2 separate regions of the Homo sapiens genome follow, and region 1 is linked to region 2. Evidence: promoter capture Hi-C in human tissues and cell types (Jung and others, 2019). All regions are on one chromosome and are shown on one strand. Each heading gives the region's core, a stretch centred on a gene start or on the middle of the fragment in contact. The rest is flanking DNA. Distances are from core to core; before and after follow the strand shown.

What was found. The method cuts DNA at HindIII sites, captures the fragments that hold promoters and counts their contacts. A contact is called where the count stands out against the background at its distance.
Region 1: a contact is called between a fragment that was not itself captured here and the fragment with the promoter of PSG1 in region 2, in 2 of the 25 tissues and cell types used here (small bowel and stomach).

What each region holds. Positions count from the first base shown.
Region 1 is chr19:42,820,036-42,826,276 of GRCh38, reverse strand. PSG8-AS1 (PSG8 antisense RNA 1) reads right to left here and starts at 4,414. Exons shown (of 4, transcript NR_036584.1): 1 at 4,364-4,414; 2 at 2,502-3,464; 3 at 933-1,345. The HindIII fragment of the contact is 3,734 bases long and covers 1-3,288 here.
Region 2 is chr19:42,878,463-42,885,001 of GRCh38, reverse strand. It overlaps PSG1 (pregnancy specific beta-1-glycoprotein 1), which reads left to right and starts at 5,289. Exons shown (of 6, transcript NM_001184825.2): 1 at 5,289-5,484. The coding sequence starts at 5,421. The HindIII fragment of the contact is 8,814 bases long and covers 71-6,539 here.

The DNA.
Region 1 (6,241 bases), core at 172-2,671, 55 kb after region 2:
TTCAAGCGATTCTCCTGCCTCAGCCTCCCAAGTAGCTGGGATTACAGGTGCCTGCCACGATGCCTGGGTAATTTTTGTATTTTTAGTAGAGACGGGGTTTCACCATATTGGCCAGGCTGGTCTCAAACTCCTAACCTCAAGCGATCTGCCCGTCTAGGCCTCCCAAAGTGCTGGAATTAGAGGTGTGAGCCACTGCTCCCAGCCTCATTAATTTATGAGTAGGCTCTTCCAGGAGTTATTGAGAAGAATATTTTACAATTCTAAGTGGAATATTTTAGCAGGAAGGACCGTGGTTTATTTCTACGATAATTCTGTTGTGGCTTAAACAGTTTGTTCTTTTATAATTTGGGGTATTCCCTCTACCACCTATTGTTTACTTTTGACCTTTGATATTTACCCTATGCAAATTCATCAACCCCTGATTTTACTTCTTCAAAGCCAGCATGAGGCTAGTCAAGCCTGGTTTCCTCTCACAGGAAGTAAGGCTTTTGCCCCATGGTATTTGTGTAGCCAGGTTACAGGAATTAAAAATCTATTGCAAGTGACAGTAATTAAAAAAAAAATCAAGTGCGGGCTACTCTGGAAGAAGAAACATTGGAATGTAGATTTTATTTGTTTATTTGCAGAGAGATGAACCAGCTTATACTCATTTGATTTCCACATTATTCATGGAGAGTCTAAAATCAATTTCTGGGAACAAAAAACCAACTTGAAAAGCTGTTTAAATTCTGTTAGTGGGACTTCCAAAGGTACAAGGGTTAAGAAAAAGAGAGGAGAAAAGAGAAAAGACGGGCAGGGAGAAATGAAAAAGTGACACCAATGTGAGCCAGACAATGGAGATGGAGAAAAAGCAGTCGAGAGGGACAGAGGGCACGGTGGAGGTCTGCAGGATCTGAAGATCCGCCTGTCTTCTCCGGACGCTCACCTCTTACCTGATCCCAGAAACAGACTGAGCTTTAACTCTGACCACACACTCCTCAGGGTGACGGAGAGTGGGGCCACCTGCACCCTGCCAGCCTTCCACAGCCCCTCTGCAAGGGCTCTGCTCCACACTCTACACGTGCTCTGAGGCCCCTTATTGCAACATATGACTTCCTCGGGCTTCCATTCCCTCCACCGCCTCTTTCTTCTCGCTCAAGCATCTTCAATGGTCTGGATACGTTTCTTTGCTTCCATTTGTCACCTTCCACTCACTCGTCCTTGTCCACTTCCATCTTCCCCTTTCTCTAACATTGCTTGTACTGAGATCAGCAACATCCTCCTTTATTGCTAAACCTGCCAGGAACTCAGAGGTTAGTTTTGCATCCTTTGACACTGAGGGCCACTTCTTTTCCTGGAATAATCTCTGTGAGGCAAATATACATTTTTAAAAACTTTGTTTAGCCTGTTGCAAAAAGATAAAGAGACTCTCCTCTTTTCACTCAGAGCATTTTCTATTCATTCATTTATTCATTCATTCATTCATTGACAGAGTCTCACTCTGTCACCCAGGCTGGAGTGCAGTGCTGCCATCTAAGCTTACTGCAGCCTTAACATCCTGGGCTCAGGTGATCCTCCCTCCTTAGCCTCCTGAGTAGCTGGGACTACACGCACACCCCACCATGTCCAGCAAATTTATTATTATTGTTGTGTGTGTGGAGATAGGATCTTGCTGTGTTGCCTAGGCTGGACTTTGAGATCATTTTTTTTAGAAGAGGTGTAATTGAAAACTCTTTCTCTATCCCTTGAAGATGTATGCAAAGCTTTCTAAAGCATACATAAGTATCTTGCCTGCCTCACAACCCAGAATTCTCCTCCTCAAGGCCATAGGAGACCTCTCTTTGAAAGGCAGGCATCCGGGCAGAAAGCACCCCTGTCTCCCAGTTTCTGTGAGAAGGAAGGAACCTCAGTTCTGGGGGCATCTCACTCCCAGTTGCAAAACTACCTCCTGTCATAGATGAGAGGTTTCTTTTTCCTGTGGATAAAGCCAATTAACCACACAGAGAATCAACACAGTTACTGGGTGAATTTAGGATGAACTACGTGTGACAAATGGTGCCGTTGAGTCCTCTCAACTGGGAACTAGTCACCATCTATCTGGAGACCATGTGTGTAACGGGTTGCACCTGCTTGGCTGGATACAAAGGTGGGATTTCTTTCTGTCTTTGTCATCTCTTAGCAGATTGCATCACATTTTGGCTTAATGCTTACTCAATCATAAGACAAGTTTCTTTTACTTCTATGGATGTGAGGGGGGTTTCTGGGCTGAGCAGAAATTTGTTTCTTAATTATATTTTTCCAGCAACCCCCACCCAACCTACCCCACCTTCTCTGAAGCTACTTCCCCCAGGCTTTAAAGGAGGCTGCTCCCCGGGGTTCCTCCCGGGCCCTGCCTCTCCTGGTTCATCTGATCTCCCACCCTCGAGGCATCGTAGATTCCCTCCCTTCCATGTGCTGATGCCTCTCGGATCTCTAACTCTAGGCAGAAACCGGCTTCTCAGTTCCTCAGCTCAAATACCCACCTTGGGACGGGCTTCTGCACCGGGACATCCCGCCAGGAACTCTCCCGGTGGAACACAGTCCATGTTCTCTGGCTGCCCTGCAGTTTTTAAATGCCACCAGTACACATGGGGAATGTTCTGCCTTCGCAAGGAGGAAGCTGGAAAGTTCATTTTCCCAGCACTCCTTGCAGGAGGGACACCGACACGGGTCCAGGCTTTCCCCATCAGGTGCTCCCGTGAAAGACTCAGGGTCCCGAACAGCACCAGGAAGCAGAGGGTGCATGACACCGATTTGTTATTGTTTTTGTTTTAATTTTTTGAGCAGGGATGGGGGACCGAAGCTTCTGGTGTAGAAGCTTCTGGACTCCAGCGCCAGCCTCAGCAGTGCAGGGTGCAGGGTGTGGTTTCTGCCTCCTGCAGTAGCCAGAAGATCTTGACCGGAGCTGTCCTGTGCCTGTGGTTTGTCCTTGCCCTGGGCCCTGTGGCCTCCAAGCCGGATTCATGAGGGCCCTTGGAGCTTGGTGACCTTCCTACCCTCTCCTTTAACCGGTCCTTTTCTGATTCTTGCTGGAGTGAGCTGGGCGGTTTTCTCTGAATCTGCTCCTGGGGTTCTCCCTTAGGGAAGGGCACCCTAGGCACCCAACCCCTCAGCCGGATGCCCAGCAGATGTTATCATGCTTCCACTTTCCTTGCCCCTTTATGTCCTGTGGTCACTCCTTTCTGTCCCTTCCATGTCCTACATCTCTCTCTGCTGTGTCCTGTCTTCTGCACCCTGTGGCCTCCACCCAAGTTTGCATCACCACCCATTCCTCCTTGAATGAATACAGTTGTCTCCCCGGGTCTCCCTGTCTCCATAGGGGCCAGCAGCATCCGAGCCAGCTTCTTCTCTGTGGCAGAGATGATCTTTTTCAGGCCTCCTCCGGCCATGGCCCTTTCCTGCTCCTCTTTCCAGAGCTCCCAAGTCCCCGGGATGCACTCCAGCTGCTAAGAGAGGCCTCGAAGGTTAGGCGATGTGGCCTCCACAGTCCTCCTGAGCAGCCACCCCACCTACCCTCATCCTTCAGCCCCATTACATTTCCTTTTTCTGTTTGATTTTTTGAATAGGTGTTGTATTTAGATGGCTCAGTAATTTCCATCTGTGTGTATCTGTATATGTGTGCAGGCATGAAGAGCCTGTGTCTCATCCCTGTTCCCTATGCACCCAGGTCCTAGCCCCACGCCAGCCCCAGTGGCCAGCTGTGCTGTTCATGACCTGCAAAGCTTTCTACAGCTGTTTTATGCAAAACAATAGGAATTATTGTAAATTATTGTGAAATATATATAACATAGAATTCACCATTTTAACCATTTTTTTCCTTTCTTTTTTTTCTGTCTTTTTTTTTTTTTTTTTTGAGAAGGGTTCCTCTTCTGTCACCCAGGCTGGAATGCAATGGCATGATCTCAGCTCACTGCAAACTTCACCTCCCGGGTTCAACCACTTCTCCTGCTTCAGCCTCCTGAGTAGCTGGGACTACAGGTGCATGCCACCATGCCCAGCTAATTTTTTGTATTTTTAGTAGAGCGGAGATTTCATCATGTTAGCCAGGATGGTCTCAATCTCCTGACCTCATGATCTGCCCACCTCGACCTCCCAAAGTGCTGGGATTAGACGCAAGCCACCTCGCTCGGCCCATTTTAACCACTTTTAAGTGTACATCCAGTGGCAGGAAGTACATTTAGGTTGTTGTTCAACCACCACCACTGTCCATCCCCACCCAGAACTTTTTCATATTCCCCAACTGGAATTCTGTACCCATTAAACACCAACTCCTCTTTCCCCCTCCCTCCAGCCGCTGACAACCACCTTTTCATTTTCTGCCTATGCATTTCATGACGTTACGCACCTCTGTTAAGTGGAATCATGTAGTAGTTGTCTTTTTGAGTCTGATTATTTCACTTAGCAGAAAGAACTCAAGGCTTAATCATGTTGAAGCACACATCAGAATCACCCTTCTTGTTACAGCTGAATCCCATTTGTTTGTACGCATAGACCACTTTTTGTTTATTCATTCATGGATGGATGGACACTGGGCTTGTTTCCAACTTTTAGCTATTGTGAATAATGCTGCTATGAACAAAGACATGCAAATATCTGCTGGGGCCCCTGCTTTCCGTTCTTTTTGGAATACACCAGAAGCCGAATTGCTGCATCTTGTGGTAAGTCTATGATTAATTTTTTGAGAAATGACCACAGTTGTTGTGCCATATTACAAACCCACAAACACTACACAAGCATTCCAATTCCTCCTCGCCAACACTTTTCTTTTCTGTTTTCCTTTTTTTTTTTTTATTGGGAACAACCATCGTAAAGGATGTAAGGTGGTATCCCACTGTAGTTGTGATTTTTATTTTCCTAATGATTAGTGATGTTGAGCATCTTTTCATGTGTTTATTGGCCATTTGTAAATTAATTTTACATTTCCTCCTTTGTAATGCAAGAGGTAGCACACCGTGCATTGTTCTGCTTCTTGTTTTTCTCACTGTGCAGTGTATCTTGGAAACCTTTCCCGGTGCACAGACAGAAGGATACCTCATTCATTGCCACAGCTGCACAGTATCCATGATGTGGATCATGGCTCATGACCCAGTTCCCTACGGATAAACGTCAAGGTCGTTCCTGGTCTGTGGCCATCACCAACACTGCCGCGACTAGTCTAGAATGGGTGCCATTTCATGCATTTGCAATTCCCAGAAGTACACTGGTTAGTCAGCAGGTGAGTGCATTGGTGAGAGGATGTGACTCCAATCTCAGGAAATATGGAAACCTTCTTCCCTTTCTAGCTGCAGCACCCCTAGTCTGGACAGCATATGGAAAGCACCCATGATCATTTGAAAATCACAAAATAACTCTAAATTTCTGCACAAGTAGGTCATCTACCACTTGTCATTCTAATCCCACACTAGGCACTTTAAGAACATGCACCCCTGGGCTTTTGCTACACTCTTTTCTTATGCTGGTACCCACCTTGTGGTGACTGAGGGTTCTCTTAATATCCCCAAGTCTGAGGAAACTGAGGCACAATTCGATTATCCACTTATGAAGTGGTGAATCTGTGGATTAAACTTATAAGACATATCCACTTCACACTCCAGAAAACTTCATCATTCCCAACATTATTGTCTTCCACCATTGGGAAAGAAATATTTTCCTTGGTAATTAGAGGAGAAAAGGTGTTTGGTGTTTCATTGTCACTTTCCTGGTGTGGAAAGTATCTACTTGCGGGTCTTTCCTAGGGCCAGCGAGTCCTAACATGTTTGAACATCTACCCATGCTATTTAAGGCAGCACACCAAACACATTCCTGCTTCGACTGCAGTATCTGTTTCATCAAGAAGAGTATTTTCCTTAAATAAGTTTGAGGTGCCTACTACTTGGGGAAATACTAAGCCTTTGGTATGCTTCTGCTCATCTAGGCATGAGACGGCTCCATCATTACTTTGGTCTTCAGTTTTCTGAATCTGCTTCTGGAAAACACTGCAAAATGTCATTTTTGAGAACTGCTGCTTTGCAAATACTTTTCATGCCTATGTGATGTGCTGTTATTCTCTCTCATTTCCTTGCTAACGTACAGTCATGCATATGAAGCAAGTTATGAGCCAGTTAAGACTGGATCTGAGTCAACTAGATTTGCATGCATTTTCAGCCACAGTACAGGTTCCTAAAAGTCATCACATGTCTAGTCTCAAAGTACTTATAGAATAGCATCTGATTATTATTAAGTA
Region 2 (6,539 bases), core at 4,040-6,539:
AAGGAAAAACACTCGCTACTTAGCAGACCGGGAAAGGGAGTCTCCCTTTCCCCAGGGGAGTTTAGAGAAGACTCTACTCCTCCACCTCTTGTGGAGGGCCTGACATTAGTCAGGTCCACCCGCAGTTATCCAGAGGCCTGACCATCTCCCTGTGAGGCTGTGCTTCAGTGGTCACGCTCCTAGTCCGCCTTCATGTTCCATGCTGTACACCTGGCTCTGCTGTTTAGTTAGCAATAGCAAATTAGTGAAAGTACTAAAAGTCTCTAATAAGCAGAAATAATGCTGTAAGCTCTCTCTCTCTTTCTCCTCCCTCTCTCTGCCTCAGCTGCCAGGCAGGGAAGGGCCCCCTGTGCAGTGGACACGTGACCCACGTGACCTTACCTATCACTGGAGATGGCTCACACTAATTATCCTGCCCTTTTGTCTTGTATCCAATAAATATCAGCACAGCCTGGCATTAAGGGCCACTATCTGTCTCCATGACTTGGTGGTAGTGGTCCCCCGGGCCCAGCTGTCTTTTCTTTTATCTCTCTGTCTTGCGTCTTTATTTCTACAATCTCACGTCTCTGCACACGGGGAGAAAAACCCACCGACCCTGCGGGCTGCTCCCTATGCCCACTTTACAGAGACATAAAGAAGTTGAGATGTATACAACTCCCCCAACAACACTGTATCACAAAACAACATCATCTCTGCCCCTCATCGTGGAATTCACTGTCTCTCACCACGTGGGCAAGTGCTTCCAGGGTCCAAAATTCTTCCACAAGAGGCAATGCACACTTTAACATAGCACTTCAGCAAATAAAGTGGTGACAGTTTACCTACTTAGATAAAGTTTCTTAAAAGCTTCTCCCAAATTTCCCCCTGAAGAAGACAGAAACGGCTTTCCCAATTGTGAAACTTTGTCCTCCCCATCTTTCAAAAAAGTACCCCTGAATAGTGAAAACAATCCTGCCAAAAGAAATTGTAAGACTTGAACTTTCTTATTTGCAATCTCACAAAGGAGTACAATTATTAAAACAAGCTGCTGGCAAAAGACTGGACATAATGAAAAATGGGATAGAATTGAGAGTCTAGAAATAAACCCTCACATTTATGGTCAATTACTCTTTGAAGAGGGTGTCAAGAAAATTTAATGGAGGAACAATTCTCCTTTCTAATGATAATGCAGAAACAACTAGATAACCACATGCAAAACAGTGAATTTAGATAACTCTACCTCCCACCATATCAAACAATTCTCTGAAAAATTCATCAGTGAGTTAAATATCAGACCTATAAAACATCTTAAAATAGACATAGAGGTAAATATTGATGAACTCAAATGTGCAATGGATTCTTAGATATGATACAAAAGCATGAGAAACAAGAAAAACAAGATAAATTGGGCTTTATCAAGATGTGAGCCTTTTGTACATCAAAGAAAATTATCAAGACAATAATTAATAGACACAGAATGAGAGAAAATATTTGACAACCACATATAGGCAGTTTTCATGTCCAGATAATATAAAGAACTAGCTACAACTCAGTAACAAAAGGAGAAACCATTAAATTTATAAATGGGCAAAAGACTCAAATATACATTTCTTCAAAGAAGATATACAAATAGTCAAGAAGGACATGAAAAGATACTAAACATCATTAGTCATTAGGAAAATACAAAGTCAAAGCTGCAATGAGACACCACATCAAACCTACAAAACTGGCTACCGTTCTTTTAAAATGTTAAATAACAAGTAGCAGCATTATGTAGAATTTGGAATCCTCATACATGGCTGGTGAGAATATAAAAAAGTACAGCAGCTAGGAGAAAGAGTATTGCTGTTCCTCAAAAAGCTAATTATAGAATTCTCATTTGAAATAACATCCATTCCTAGGTATATACCCAAAGAATTAAATCCACGGACTCAAAAAGGTACTTGCATGGGAATGTTCATTGCAGCATTATTCAGAAAAGATAAAATATGAAAACAATCCAAGTGTTCATCAACACATGAATAAACAAATATGGTGACACATAAAACAGAATGATAATCTGCCATAAAGAGGAAGGAAGCTCTGACACCCGCTGGAACATGCATGGACTTGGAAAACATTATGCTAAGTGAAATGTGTCAGAAACAAAATAACATAATTGTATAATTCCATTTATATGAAACATCAAGAATAGGCAAATTCATAGAGACAGAGTAGAGGTGATCAAGGCCTAGGGTGGAACATACAGGGAGTTATTGTTTAAAAGATACAAAGTTTCAGTTTAAAATGATAACAATTTTCTAGGAAAAATACTGGTGATGGTAATTTAACACGGTGTATGCGGTTAATTTCATTGATTGTGCATTTTAAAGTGGTTAAAATAGCACATTATTCACAGAACTGTGAAAAATAGATTTCTATTATTTAATTCACCCAGGCTAAGGTGTTTGTTATAGGAGCTGAAGCCTATGAATACATCATCTGACCCAGTGTTTTCAATGAAATGCATCAGTTTTTCAATCAAGTTAGCTGGAAGCTCCTGTCCCCAAGAGAACCAGAGGCCCCAAAACAAGAGCTCCAGCAGGGGCTCAGCCAGCACAGGTCCCATAAGGCAGCCTCAATGTCAGGCCCTGGATGGCATGTGAGGCCACAGCAATACAACCACAACGTGAAAGTGTAAGTATTTTTACTACTTACAGACACTGGGAAGCACTTGGCACACCTGGAGACCACAGACACAGAGGTCAGTGAGCCCAGGGAGGGAGGAGAGAAGAGACCGGTAAGCCAATGGCTTTATTAAGTCCAGGGTGTTATCTGACAGGTTTCCAGCAGGGAGCTTTAATGGATGTGTTCAAAGCAAGCAGCAAACACTGGGAACAGGAGCTCACGCTGTGACTGAGAGGTGGTCACTTTTAATGTGAGGGCGAATGTCAGAATTATCAGTTTAAAGAAAGCAGCTGGAGAGACGGGAGCCCAGCACACCAAGCAGGAGAGATGTCTCTAAGATTTGATCTCTGGACACCAACTGGAGCCACTTGAACCAGACACAGTATTGAAAACTGCCATGGTGACCAAGCCCTGCCTCTGATTTGAGGCAAATAAACTTACACCTTAAAAAATGAATGCCAAGGCAACATGACACTATGAGCATCATGACATCCAGGGACACCAGCAGGGTGTGGTACTCTGCCCTGGAGTCAGAATCCTGGGTTCTGGTCCCTGGGAGTGAGAAAATGAAAATGACTTGTCCCTGCCCCCCTGACATTGATCTTCCCACCCTGCTGCTCCCAAGCCCAACTGCAGTGCTCAGCCCCAGACATCACTGCCCCCAGGGTATACACAGTGCCGCCTACTGCACACAAACACAAACTCACAGAAGGTGACAAAAATCTGCATTTGGGACATCTGATTGTGAAAGAGGGAGAACAGTGAACATAGAGCCACAGAGACTGGGACTCACGGGGCTGGAAGGTGATGGGGCTGTAACATAACACAGGTGTGACCTCGTGTGAACTGTGCAGATCCACGTGGAATAAAACATGCATCCTGGCCTGGAATTGCTGCCGTTCACACTTCCCTCCCTGTCCACCAGAGGGGGACAGAGTCCCTCCCAGCCTGGAGTCTTCCCAGGGGATGCCAACCTCACTCAGCGGAACCCACAGCCCAGCAGTGTCCACCCTCTACAGGGTCACTTCTGCCCAAGTCCTCAGCGCCCTCCATGCTCCCCACACGGACACTGTCAGCTCCTCCCTGACCTGGCGGCCGCCAACCTAACACCACTCCCCCTGCAGGTAGCTCCTCCCCACACACCTGCTCCTTCCCTGGGCCCAGCTAAAGGCATCTCCCAGGGCAGCGCTGGTGCACGCGATGCCACACCGGGTGCTTTCCCCTCGTGACCTCCCTCCATCCTCATCAACTCTTTCTGGCACTGCTCCCTAAATGCCCACCCCTGCTCCATCTGTCCTGTTCTCTGGGGCATCCCAGGCCAAGCCTAGCGCTGACACAGAACAGCGGCTGCCTGAGGGCCCACAGCCTCCCCGGGAATCAGCCAGGCACCCTGTGACCTGCCTGCCCGCTGCACCCTGGGGGCTCAGAGCGCGTGTGATGGTCACACACAGGCACCATCCGGGATGTGGCCACCTAACACCAGCTGTCCCTTGGGAAGACAGACCTCTCCTGTGTGCTTGCGGGAAGAAGGGGAATGTTATTGCTCTTTGATCTCAGAACACAACTCACCCCCACCCGCCCTCTCAGGTGAGAGCAATGTCCCTCCAGACAGGCTCTCTGGCCACTGCCTGTTCCTCCTCTACACACAGCAGCTTGGCCAGGTCAAAACCATCAGGACAGACCCCTGGGTATGTCAGCATATGGAGGGCTGAGCCCATCATGGCCACGGAGTAAGTTGGGATGAATCTCTCCAGCTCTGAACCCCTGCTCTGTCCCAGGCTCCCCCTCCCGCATCTCAATGAGCCATGTCCCGCAGGGTTCCTGGGTAACTCCCCACTTCCTCCTGCACCACCACAGGGAAGGTGTGGTGACCACAGGACAGTCAGCTGGGCAGAGAAGAGAGGACATCAAAGATGGTCAGGAAGAACATGAGAAACTATGAGCTCCAGCTCAGCCGCCAGACCCCAGGGAGCCATAGACTGACAGAGAACTGTCCCTTTGACTATGGGACTCACAGCCCCCACTGAGCAACCAGCACAGGCCTCTCCTCCCAAGAGGCATGAGAGATTCACCCTGCACACCGCCAGAAAGGACAGTTTCCTCTGGGACACCCAGGTCCTGAATGTCCATCCTTGGAAGCTGCAGCCAAGCTAGACATGATTAGAGAAAGGAAGGGTCCCTCTCACCAGGCAACACACAGCTCACCCACAGCACAATGGGGCATCATTCTGACAGGGACCTGGTACAGCTCCAGCCTCCTGCACTGAAGGGGAGAGCCTGATGGGGATGAAAGAGGCCAAAGGGCGTTAATTTGCACCCCGACCCAGAGCCATGGGGACACCAGGAGGCTGAGGCCCAGGACTGTTCTTGCCCAACCTGCAGGGTATGTGTCTGACTGTGTGGGTCTGTGTGTATCTCTTCTGTGTGTGTGTGTGTGTGTGTGTGTGTGTGTGTCTGTGTGTCTGCACAAAGTGTGTCTTGAGGTTTGGTGAAAGAATCACTGCTGAAAAAGGCAGAGGCCGCCACAATTCCCAGGGACCTGAAACACAGACAAAAGGAGAAACAGAAGGAGGGACAAGGAGGCAGGACTTAGAGAGGAGGGGACAGAGAGGTGTCCTGGGCCTGACCCTGCCCATGAGCTTGAGAATTGCTCCTGCCCTGGGAAGAGGCTCAGCACAGAAAGAGGAAGGACAGCACAGCTGACAGCCGTGCTCAGAGAGTTTCTGGATCCTAGGCTTATCTCCACAGAGGAGAACACACAAGCAGCAGAGACCATGGGAACCCTCTCAGCCCCTCCCTGCACACAGCGCATCAAATGGAAGGGGCTCCTGCTCACAGGTGAGGAGAGAACTTCCTGGGAGAGGACAGGAGGAGGAAGCAGAGTGACTGGATGGGGTCTCCTGGAGAGGATGGGGTTCTAAAAAATGAAAGAAGCCAGCACTTTGGGAGTCTGAGGTGGGTGGATCATGAGATCAGAAGTTCAAGATCAGTCTGGCCAACACAGTGAAGCCCTGTCTGTACTGAAAATACAAAAATTTAACCAGGTATGGTGGTGTGCTCCTATAATCCTAGCTACTCGGGAGGCTGAGGCAGGAGAATCACGTGAACCCGGGAGGCAGAAGTTGCAGATAGCTGAGATAGCACCACCGCATGCCAGCCTGGGCGACAGTACAAGACTCCATCTCAAAAAAAAAAAAAGAAAAAAGAAAAAAAGGAAAGAAGGCTCTGTTGGAGCCTGGATAGGGGAAAATACACCAGAGAGGGACAGGGGTCAAAACAGGAAAGTCGTATTGGACCGGAATTGGTAAGAGGTAGGAAAATCTTAAGTGTTCTGTTTTCCTGATTAATCATCAGGGGCCACCATATTTTGAAAAATGATAATAATAACTATAGCAGATGACACCTCAAATAAAAATATAAACAGGGCAGGAAACACTGTCCTCAGCAAGAAACCTCAACAATTGGGGGAAAAAAAACACCCAGGGCATGGAGGGCCCTGAGAACTCTCACATCTACAGGAGTCTGCAGCCTGTTCCAGGCACTGGGGTGCAACCAAGATCACAAAAGTCCCTGTCTTCACGGAGCTCACGCTGTCATGGGGGGGAAGACAGACATGCAAAGAGATCTAGAATGTGAGGTCAGGTGTTGACAAGAACCCTGGAGGGAGCAGAGCAGGGAAAGGTCAGAAAGGGAAGACCCAGGGTCTCTGAAGCAGGCATCAGGAAAGAAGTCTAACGATGCCCTGATGTAAGCAGGACCTGAGGGCATTGTGGAGGGGGCCATGCGGACCCCTGGGGAAGAGGATTCCAAACAGAAAAATGCCAACGTCAGAAGTGTTGAAGGAATGGGCGTCATGCTGCTGACCTTGACCTAGTAGGACAGTAGGACACACA